Regions from separate parts of the Homo sapiens genome. Here region 1 is linked to region 2. The links are contacts of gene promoters, found by promoter capture Hi-C in human tissues and cell types (Jung and others, 2019). All regions are on one chromosome and are shown on one strand. The core of a region is centred on a gene start or on the middle of the fragment in contact, and the rest is flanking DNA. Distances in the headings are between cores, read along the strand shown. Region 1 overlaps C10orf71 (chromosome 10 open reading frame 71). Region 2 holds the start of VSTM4 (V-set and transmembrane domain containing 4).

The links. The method cuts DNA at HindIII sites, captures the fragments that hold promoters and counts their contacts. A contact is called where the count stands out against the background at its distance.
Region 1: a contact is called between a fragment that was not itself captured here and the fragment with the promoter of VSTM4 in region 2, in 2 of the 25 tissues and cell types used here (heart left ventricle and spleen).

Annotation. Positions count from the first base shown.
Region 1 is chr10:49,303,745-49,309,616 of GRCh38, forward strand. The region is part of intron 1 of C10orf71 (chromosome 10 open reading frame 71); the gene reads left to right. Among named protein-coding and RNA genes, the nearest start is that of C10orf71, 7.5 kb to the left of the region's middle. RefSeq lists a silencer at 4,364-4,413. The HindIII fragment of the contact is 4,363 bases long and covers 282-4,644 here.
Region 2 is chr10:49,113,696-49,119,336 of GRCh38, forward strand. VSTM4 (V-set and transmembrane domain containing 4) reads right to left here and starts at 1,827. Exons shown (of 8, transcript NM_001031746.5): 1 at 1,736-1,827. The coding sequence starts at 1,790. The HindIII fragment of the contact is 10,769 bases long and covers 1-5,386 here.

The DNA.
Region 1 (5,872 bases), core at 1,213-3,712, 190 kb after region 2:
AGAACCAGGCTGGCCACATCTGAATGGTTTTCCTTGCCATGAGGAATTCCATGAAGCAGTTGGGTGCTGGTCAGCTCCTTACATTGCACTGCAGGAGCCTGTTCTCCCCTTTCCTTCCCCTGGCTGAGCCGCCTTACCCCTGCTGTGCTGGTTGGAGAAAGGACAGCAGTCATCTACCAGCTACTTTCCAGCCTCCAGCAGAGACAGGAGAAGGCCAGGCACAGCTTCAGACCTATGTGGGAGGCTTAGGAATTCCCAGGGGTGCTCTGTGTGAGGTCCCCTTCTCCTTATCCCAGATGCACACAGCTTTGTGGCTTCCAGGCCAGGGAAGATGAGCTCTGCAGGAGAGCCAGGTCCTACACATGCCTCCTCTAGCTTTACTAAAGCAAATGCTCCCTGGCGGGACCAGATGCAGAGAGAGATAACTGAGAATTTGCTAGGAGAGGGGTTGCTACCCACTCCTCGCCCTGCACAAACCTGTGGCAGATAGAAGACCATCTCATCTCTTGACTCTCTGCCTCACTGCATTCTGGAGAGACCTGGCCCTGAATCCTGGCTCTGTTGCTCTCTGGCTGTGTGACCTTAAGTGAGTTCCTTAACCTCTCTGACCTTCAATTTCTCCACCTAAAATTCCTTTTGCGTCAGCCCTACTCAATTTGCCAGTTGTTGCACCCACTGAGTGAGGCCATGGATACAGAGTGAGGGACAGGTTGCAGGAGCGCCGTCAACAGGATGGGTGCCTGGGACTACCAGGGGGCTAACATTTGGTGACAGCTCTTCCAGCTCTGCTTCTCTGCCTGTGTCACGCAACCTCATGGCACCAGTTTGCATATGGAGAACCTGGTCTATAGACAATGTGATGGACTCTGTAGAAACCCTGCCCTCCCGTAGTTCTCAGGAGTCCTGCCTGAACCTCCTCTCTCTGCCAAGGCTGGCACCCTCCGGGGCTGCTTTCAGGGGGTTCCCCTCCCCTTAGTGCCTGGCTCCCTTCCCAGGGGCTGGAGAAAGGATGGTTCCTGAGGGGATACCCCCATCCCAGCAAAAACAAATGTCTCTTCCTCCAGGAGCCCTCAAGTGGGCTTCTGTCTAGACAAGGCTCTCCAAGGTGGAATCTGGTCATAGGTTACAGTTGTCCCTTCACCACCCACTTCCTGATCCATAAGGGGTTTCCACAAGCATCAAGCTGCTGGGTCTGCCTTTCCATTTGCCCCAAGGTCACCAAAGTGAGACTGAGGCTCACACAAGTTAAGTGGCAAGTCCTAAAGCTGTCTGATTCTGAAGCTCTTAACTGGAGAGTTATGTGCCCCAGTAAGTAAGGGCCAGGGCAGGGTTTCAAGTTCTTTGCACCCCATGCTATGGAATCCCAGGTGTCATGGGGTATGGGGAATAGAAGGACATCTTATGGCCATAGGTCTCAAGATGAGCTCTAAGGAGACCTGTGGGTAAGAACCAGGAGTATGGAGGCTGCAAGGTAGCCAGGGGCAGGTGGGTCCCCAAAGTCACAGTGTGGTGCTGAGCAGAGACTTTTAACCTGTAGCTGGCATTCTAGAAGCTGCTAGAGGAGGCTCTCTAAAGACAGGTGAAAGGGACCACTTCTCTGGCAGCCCTAGGTTCCAGCCCCACACCACCAGGTATTAAATTCTGCGCTACACACGTTTCTCCTCTGTAAAGAACAAGAGTAACTCCTGTGTAATGAGGCTGTTGTGAATACTAATTAAATAATAAATATTAATAATACTAGGTTATAAAGTACCTTTATACCAGGTGCTCATTACCCACTCAGTGGATAAGAGAAATTTCTCTCACCTACTCATTCACTCACTTGTTTAGCAAATAAAAGGCCCCATGCTAGGCATAGGCACTGTGTGGAGACTGGAAACATAAGCTAGAGCAGTAAGGCAAGGCCCAGCCCATGGACCTGCCACCAGCGGGTGGGGTCTCCTCCCCTCCCCAAGTGAATCTGATCAGCCACTGTTTGGGCCTTGGGTCTCCAATTCTCCATCCAGATGAAAATCTAGCATTACCAGAAACGGGGCACCCGTAAGTTGGGCATAATTAGGGATGCCTAAAATTTCTGGTCTCAGAGAGTTTTTTTTAAATCACTATAGATCATAAGTCATTACTGAGTCCTGAAATCACTAAGTTGTGAAGAGGTTTTTTAAATGAACGAATAGATTAGATTAGGATGGAGCAGTACATATAAGAAGGGTAAGCTTTGCTTTGTCTGGTTTTCCATGATACATATGTCTCCAAGCATGTTCTGTGCCATGATGTAAATGCATTTCTTACTACATGTAGAGGAGAAACCTCTGCTCTGTGGAGACACGGAGAGGAGGATGTGTATGCCATTCACTCGCTCCCTGTCGACCTGGCAGGTGAGGCACGGGGCTGCAATGGTCAGGGCCTTCTGAACCTCCTTCTAGTCCAGGCGTCCTCCCTGCTGTGGTGGGGATCCAGGACCTGGTGGTTTGGCTGACTCCAGCATCGAGAGACTCTCAAGCAGTGCCTGCCACAGGGACCGATTCCATGAAAATTCCTGTGTCCAGCATGGGGAGCAACCTTGGGAGTGGGCAGTCCCAGGGGCGGGCACAGCCGGGCTGATTTTTATTATCCCTTTTTTCCAGGTGTAGCAGTTAAGTGACACCCATGACAACAGCACTTTAGAGCTGGGTCTCCGCTCTTCGCACTGCTGGTACTGCCTATTTGATGACTCTCATGTCAGGTCCTGCCATTTCCAGAATCCAGGGCAAGATGTTCCTAGGAAATGTGGAGGGGAAGAGCAAGTGAATACATGAATGAGTGAAGGCAGGAAGAGCCTGGTGCTGGGCTAGTGCTCCCTCCCTGATTCTCTAACAGCAGTTCTCAGCCAGGGGTGATTTTGGCCAGAGACTTGGGCAGTGCCAGTGATGTGGGGACTTAGAAAGTCTATTGGGAGCACCTGTGCCAGGTGCATGGCATGGGGTCCACTTACTTGCAGATGAGAAAGGCTCTCACATGCCATGTCCCTCAAGCACGGTTGTACTCAGCAACCATGGCTAAAGGGCACAGAGCAGCACGAGGACCTGTGCCCAGATCCCAGGGGGACCCACCATTCACATGGCCCCAGAGCTCCTGAAGGAGCCATGTGTCCCTTCTCCAGCAGCTGGCCTGGCAGTGGGGGTGGCCCTGCAGTTTGGGTTGGGTGCAACAAGGAGGTGCAAGGGTAAGAAGGATGAGCAGCAGAACCATGGCTGCCAGGCTGACCCTGCTTTCTCCCAAAATCTCTGCCTCTCAGGCAACTCCCCTCCTGGGCAGTGGAGCAGGACTGGCACTCACCCAACCCTGGGATAGGAAGACAGGGTGAACAGAGTTGTTTGGGATCACATGCTCTCCCTTCCAGATCTTTCCTGCTCCTACTTTTACCTGTGATGCCAGCATGGCTGCTCCTATAAAGCACCTCTGAGCTCACAAGGAGACGCCAAGGGCACCTCTGAGCTCGCCAGGAGAAGCCAAGGGCACCTCTGAGCTCACGAGGAGAAGCCAAGGGCTCTTTGCTTAGGGAGCATCTGGCTGCTGAGGCTGGGCCCCTTGAGGTCTGCAGAGAACACCTGAGAGAGTGTCGTGGAGCAGCTGGCAGTGCCAGGCCTGAGCTCCTTCCTAGTGGAAGGGACTGTCCAGAGACGGTGTCTGGCTGAGTCCAGCCCATCTGGCCACCAGGAGTTCCAAGGAGTGATCCTCCATAATGCTCCACCTCCAGAAGCGGTCAGAAACTGCGCAAAGAGGTGCTGCTGACAGCTCGCAGGTTAGCCTTTGTGGAGTGAGACTCTACCCAAGTTTAAGCAGTGCGAGCTCCGGAGCCTGCTGGGATGCAGAGGCGCACCAGAGCCCCCTGCACCCTGCAAGGCCCACTGAGCACACCTCGTCCCAACTCTGCCTGGGATATCAGGGAGGCAGCAAGAAATTAGCCAGTGCTACAAATCCAGTGCTTTTTGCCCCAGAGAGCTGGTTATTAAACATCGCTTGGCCTGCCCTGGTCATCAGGGAACAGGAACCAGGAGGGGACAGGTTTGTGGGAGACTGCTTGAACCCAGTCCCATTCTCCTCCTCTCTTCTTTTCTCCTGTGACTTCTCATTTCTCCTGCCATAAGGGTCCCTCCCTGGGTCTGTGATGCCAGGTATTGGTCACCCTCATGTCCTGGGTTAGACCAAGCCCGGCCTTCCCTGTGCCTTGTTCCCTGGCCTCAACTGTAGGCACAGCCCTGGGTCTGAGCAGCACTTGGAAGCTTCTGGGGAATGACCCATCCAGACATGGCAGACTGGCTACCCAGGCCAGAAGTCAGCTTCAGGCTGGGCTGAGCTCACAGAGAAAGCATCACTCCTCCAGTCTCTCCCCAGAGGGCAGCAGCCCCTGCTACCCCCTGCTCACATCCAGTTCTGTGGGTTTGACAAGCCCAGGCAAGCTGGTTTCTTCAACCACAACCCCTGGGGCATCCTGGACTTCTACCTGCTACAAGATTTAGAGGCTCCTGCACATGTAATGTGGTTGTAGAAGATTCAGACTCCCACCAGGCCAACACTGCCATCATGGCACCCAACCACATCATGTTCCTGGGGCTGGCCAAAGCCAAACTTGTTCTCTCCCAGGGCACAGTGGCCTCAGAGTCAGTTTGAGAGCCTTTGGCTTTCCCAGGCTATAACCTGAGTTTGGGTCCAGTCAAGCCAGGCCAGGCTGCAGGCTGACACCCCTCTCCCATGTGCCAAATATCAGGCTAGTGGAGCCAAAATGGCCAGACTGGATGCACAATGACCCTTATGTATATCAAATCTCTGCTTTACACACATAAGAGGCACTGCCCAGTGGAAGCCAATCTAAGGCAATCAGAGGTAATTGTGCTTTTACAAAGCAGTAACTTCCCAGGATCCATCCAGTTACGTGAGGAGAGGGCCCGGGTCAGCCCTGCACATGGCTATATCTCCAGCACCAAAACTGGTGACGTGAAGCAGGTGTTCAATAAGTAGTTGTTGAATGGATCAATACATAAATAAGCTTAAGTCACGCTTACGAGATCTTACGCTTTCTTCTAGGAGTCTAAATGAACTTATAATTTCTGATTTCCAAAAGTAAAAGGGGTTACAAAGACACAGCGAGCCCCACATGGGAGATGCTGAGGAGGCATCAACCTGGGGCCAGAGAGCAGGGCACAGAGGCCGAGGACTGGGTGAGGCCCTGCTCAGCACTCCCAGGCCTTAAGCAAGGGACCAGCGATTGACCTAGCCAGTCACAGCTCAGTTTCATCAGCTGTAAGATGATGAGGGGAGCCTATCATGCCAAGTGTTATCAAGGAATAAGTGAGCACGGGCAGGTGCAGGGGTCGACCTGCTGCTTCACAGACACTCAACACGTGTCTGCTGCCCTCACCTGAAGGACTTCAACTGAGGAAGTAAATTTTGCCATTTCACTGTTGGCTGCTATGGGCTGAATGTGTGTGCTCCAAAATTCACTGAGATTACCCCAGTGGAATGGTATTAGGAGATGGGGCCTATGGGAAGTAATTAGGTCATGAGGGTGGGTCCCCTGTGATAGGATCAGTGCCCTTATAAGAAGAGACACAAAAGGGCTTGCTAATACATGTGCACACTCACTCTCTCTCTCTCTGCTGTATGAGAATACAACAAGCAAGTGTCCATTTACAATCCAGGAAGAGGGCCCTCACCAGAAACCAGATCTGCCAGTGCCTTGATCTTGGACTTTCCAGCCTCCAGAACTGTGAGGAGTAAATGTCGATTTTAAGCCTCCTAGCCTATGATATTTTAGTTCAAGCTAAGACATTCTCCTCATAAAGCATAGACCATAGACAAGGACATTCCCCTCTAAAGCAAGAGGGCTGTTAGA
Region 2 (5,641 bases), core at 577-3,076:
TCCTGGTCAGTCCCAAAATGGAGAGGCAGAAAAGTACAGCAGTTAAGAAGCTGTACTTATGTATAAAATGGGTCTGCCAGCCCCTCCCAGCAGGATCGTGGTGAGGAGTCATGAATGAGGCACTTAGAAAAGTGGGTGGCACACAGTGAGTGTCCCACAAGCAGGAGCTCTTATCATCCTCCAGGGCTGACCATGGGCACAGCCAGGGCAGACTCTAAAGGCTCCTGAATTCCAGCTCTCAAGGCTCCCGAGGGCTCTGGAAATGTGAGAATGCCCTTGATCCCCAGCAAAAGACAATCTCTGGGACACCCACTCTGACAGCTCCTGCAATTAGAAGGTGGTCATGGAGCCTGGGAGAGGAAGGACCACTGGCTGCTGGCTACTCCACAGAGACCACGAGAACTGGCCCTGCCCACCAGTCCAAGGCAAACTTCTCATCATTTTTCCAGCCGAGACAGTGACAACTGGGAAAAGGTACATTTCCCGCAGCAAGGATTTCAGGTTCACTGGGAACCTGGCTGCACTCATAGCTGGGGGACAGTAGATGGATTTCTTCCCACTGTTATCCAAGTGCCTCCTCCTCAGACTGGGATCTATGGATTAATGCTGGCTCAAATGCCAGCTCTACACTTGGTAGCCAGATCACTCTTGGAAAATGACTTCTGAGCATCAGTTTCCTAATTTTCAAAACAATGGCAACACAGTTTAGTGGTTATTGACAGAGCCCAGAGCCAGGCTAACTGGGTTCAAATCCCAGCTCCACCACTTACAAGCCTACTGAATTAAGGCAAGTCCGTTCATGGGCCTGAGCCTCAGTTTCCTCATCTATAAAATAGGGATAATAATAGCACCTCCTTCAGAGGTTATTGGTGAGATTAACCAAGTTCATGTTTTTTTTTTTTAATACTTGGATATATAAACGTGTTGTAGTCATTATTACTTGGAAGTGTTGTAATTAAATGAGATAGGCCCAGATAGGCACCCAGGGAAAGTGACCATCGATACCTGTATTATTACTATTATTCCAGCCAGTACGGCCCCTGCTGCCCTGAGGCAGCCAGACAGAGTTCTGGGGAATAAAGAGGGAAAATTCTTAAGACACTTACAAGTGGGAGCAGTAAAACCCGAATGAAAGCCATTAGTGTGGACCAAGAAGTTGTCCTCAAAGCAGGGTGCTGGTGGAGAGGCGTCGCTGCATCCAGCCGTGGATGCCCCTCTCACCAGGCCTGGTCACCTCAAAAGGCCCACGATCAAGTCCCCGTTCCCCACCTCCTGGCCAAGGCAGATCCAGCCGCTCCTGACTTGTCTTCGGAGTAACTCTCCGAAGAGAGTGAAAGGGAAGTTGCTGCTCCGAGGAATCTGCCAAGAGCTGTGTGTCCTGACTGCCGTGGAAAAAAGGAAAGCGAACCACCAACTTGGGCTGCGCTCCTGCTGCATCTCCCCTCGGGGCCTGCCGCTGGGAAGATCTCGGCTGCTGCGAGAGTACCCAGCCCCAGGCGAGGTCGGGACGGGGACCGCGCTCACGGGAGGCGTCCTCTGAACCTTGGGGAGGCGCCGCTGCGCCCGCCAGACCCTCGGCGAGCCCACCGGAGCGCGCTGGCGACAGTGACAGCGCCGCCCCCCGCCCGCGCCCGGAGGTGGCAGGGCCTCCCCACCAGGCCCGGAGCCCCGGCCTCCCCGGCGCGGCCGCCCGGCCCCCACCCTTCCCGCTCCCGCCTGGCCCCGCCGCGCTTACCCGGAGCCGGAGCCCGCGCCAGCAGCGCGGCCGCCGCCAGTGCCAGCAGCCGCATCTCCCCGCCGCCGCCCGGCGCTGTGACGCGGGAGAGCGCCGCCGCCTGGCCCGGCCGCCGCCAGCCCGCCCCGGGCCCGCGCTCGCGCCCGCCCCCGGCCCGCCCCTTGGGCCGCCTGCCACGCGGGGCCGGGGCTGCTGGGTCCCGAGGCCCGCACCGGGCGCGGGAGCCGCCGCGCGATCGGTTCGCTCCAGGATCTGTGGCGTCTCCTTTCAACAGCCCCATTTCCCAGATGAGAAAACTGAGTTTCTGCAAGGTGATCGCTGGTGACTCACAGAACACACAGCTGCAGTGCGACCGGCGGTCCTCTGCCCACAGATGCACTTATTCCTAAGGGAAGGCGGGATCTGGGAGCCAGGGGGTGGGGGCGCGTCCAGGGAACCTCTGGCCTGAGACTCACCTGCTGGTCGTGGGCCTCCTGCGCTCACTCCACAGGACCCTCGGGAGCCAACAAGCAGCTGAGGGGGGAGAAGCCCCTTCTGCTGCCCTGAAATGGAGGGCGGGGTCCGAGGTGCTAACCCTTGGAAAACTGAGAGGGTCCACACAGACCAGCCCAGAATATGTGGAAACTATTAACAAAAGTGCCCATTTACAGTGCCTCAGCCAGGCCTGGGCTAAAGTGATTTTCCAGATGCTACTGAACCCCGCCGCGGTCAGGCCTGGGACAGTTCTGTAATCTCCATGTGCCTCAGTTTCCTGCACCTGTAAAATGGGGAAATGGGCCCACCCCTTCTGGGGTGTTTAGGAAGACCAAGTTACACCATTCCCATTAACGCATTGCCCCAGCACCCGATTCACGGGTGTCAGTGAACACTACTATTATTACTATACATAAGGAAGCAGAAGCAGCCACATGAAAGAGACCCATGTCACACAACCACAGAGCCCTGTCACTCTGAGCCAATGCCTGGTCTCTTTGCCACTGTTCTAAACTTAGGGTCTGAGCCTAACCCATCTCCAAGCAAGAAAAGCACATGTTAGGTCTATTCTGTGTGTGTCTATCAGGAGAGGTCTTTGTGGAGTTCCAGTGAGGGGTAGCAGCAGCTAGCAGGTGGGCCCTGGTTGGGAGTGGGTCCCTGTAGGAGGAGGAGGAGACAGGGCCCTCATCTCCTTCCCTCTAAGGGAGTGAGGAGGTGTGGGTGGCATGGAAAGAGGGTGCAGCCCACTAGTGTGAGCCCCAGGGCATTCCCCAGAGGGACCATCCTCTTCAGGCACCCCAGGCCAGTGGGTGCAAAGGCTCTGTGACATCTCTGAACCCCAGGCACTTCCAGAGGTCTCTGGACCCCATGGGATCCTCCAGCTAGGAGACTCATCTGTGGACCAGGGCCCTGCAGGGACTGGACTGACCATCAAGGCAGCCAGGCTGGAGAAAGCAGCCCCATCTATAATTTGGGTTGGTGGAAGGGCCTGAGGACCCGATAGTGAGTTGGCAACAAAGGTACTTGGCTATGATGCCAAGGACAAGAAGTGAGGACTAGAACTGGGGTCAGATGGACTCCTGCAGCCCAGGAATGCAAACTAGAACCAAGTGAGGCTTCCAGACCAGAGTTTGGAAACCAATTTTATACATGAGCAAACGAGCCTCACGTCCCATCCACATAATGTCCTAGGCCTCATTTTACAAATTAGTAAATTCAGGCTCAAAGAAGACCAGGGACCCGTACAAGGTTCTGTGGGGCACCAAATGTCTGAACTGGGAACTTGGACTCTGACTGCAGACTGTTGACTCAGCCCTGGAGCCTGGGGCAGTGTTTGGCAGACTGAGGGAGGATGTCTGAAGAGGAGCACTGGTTCTGAAAGTGGATCTGTGACCCGCTCTGGCTGGGCAACAACCTTGGGTCCTGGAGCAGCACAACCTCTCTGAATTTCATTTGTCAAGTGAAGGTGACACATGTAAAATGGCGTCTTGACATGGCTGTACTAAGAGCAGCTAGAGATGTGGCAGGGCCATTTGGTATCCTTGGTAACCTCCCACCTCAACCTGCTGGTCTCAATTTACTCTCCCAGTTGGTGAAAAGCAGAAGGGACCCCTTAGATGTGTCAGCCACCCTTGGAGGAGGCAACTCCTGCTTTGGTCGTTGTATATTGCTAAATATCCAACTCTCATTGCAAAACAGAGCAGAAATTCAGCCTGCCACCCTTGACTTGCTTCGTCTTTACCAAACTGGGGTTGTGCCAAAGATTTGAGGCTAGAAAGTGCTTTTCTTGTACTTTTCTGCTACAGGTAACATTGTGCTGATTTTACAGCTGTGTGCACTGCTGGTACTTTTCAGCTTCCCATATAATCTAACTGATCATCCTGGTAAAACCTTTGCTGCATGAACACAGGAACAAGGGAATATACTCAGCCCTCATGGGAGACAGAGCCAGTGACCCGGATAAGACTTGGCCTTTCAGCTCTTCTGGACTACATTGGCAAAGGCCTTCCAAATGGTTTTCTTAGCTCTGCTGCCTGCTCACTCATTCACAAGCTTAGGACCATTTGAAAATCCTTCACAGGCTTCTTTGTCCATACCTTGGCTCTATCAGGTCTTACTTTGTACTGAATTGGAAGAATAATACAATCCAATTCTATTTTTTGTTTACCTCATAAGAAGAGGGTGTTCAAACCATTCTAAAGTTGATCCAGATTCCTGTGGACACTAAGCTATATGGAGAGCCTACTCAACTAATCCTGTATTCTACCAGTTGCCACTGAAAGAATCTTAGAAATCCAGATTTTCTCCAACAAGTGCATTCTGCTATCACCTGGCAGGCCGGGGCTTTTCCTCTTTCATTATCCAATTGTTTGTTAGAACCTGGGTCAGAGATGGAAGAGTACAGCATGGTTTTGTAATGGACCTTGCACACAGCAAATATATCCCTAAACTAAGACCATCAAGCAAAACGAAACACCCCTCTTCTAAGGTGTTTAGCAGATTTCCAAGTGTTACTTTTTCAGTCTAGGTTTCTAAAAGTAATTTTGAATATTTGCTCCTCCCTATTGTTCACAGGCATTTTACAGCTAAAAGCAGTCAGCTACATGCTTGAATTGCCACTAAAAGAGAGTTCACTCTAGAGAAAAGCAGTTATCAGCTGTGACTGAGAGAGCAGGGAAAGGATAAGAAAGAGGAGAGATCGTGGTTACAGACAATGCAGCCATCCAATCAGAAAGATATGCCTAAGGCCCCTGGGGCAGAGTTTACATGAAACCTTCAGCACCGTCTTCTCCCTGCACAACTGGGGAAGGAGTATGGACTACACTGTTTTTCCCGAAATGTACAGAAATGTGAAGCTATAGGCCTGACAGGATGTCTAGATAGAAATAGCTTCTAACCAACCTCATTGGTGACCCCAATAGAGGGACGTGATTGTGAGCTGATGCCAAGGGCTCTGCAGGCCGGCTGGATGCAGCAACCTGGACCAGCTCCCAGGAAACGGAAAGACATGGCCCCAGATTCCTAGAAGGCTCCAGATGGAGGTGATTGAAATGAGGGAGGGACTAGGAACCAAACAGATGTCTATAAAACTGACCACAAAGAAAACATCTTAGAACTGACCACTGATGTATAAGACTAAAAATCTCAGTCTATGCCTTCTACTTTTATTGAACATTCAGTGAGCAAAAGACAGACTGAAGAACTGTTCAGAGTAAAAGAGGTTAAAAAGACTTATCAACTAAGTGAAACGTATGATCCTAGATCCTTGATGTGGGATCAGGAAAAAAATGCTAAAAAGGACATTATTGGTATGACTGGCAAATGGACTATATTGTATACTACATACATTTCCTGAGCATGATTATGAAAGAGAATGCCTTTACACTTGTTCTTAGGCGATCCACACTGAAGTATCTGGTGTTAATAGAATGA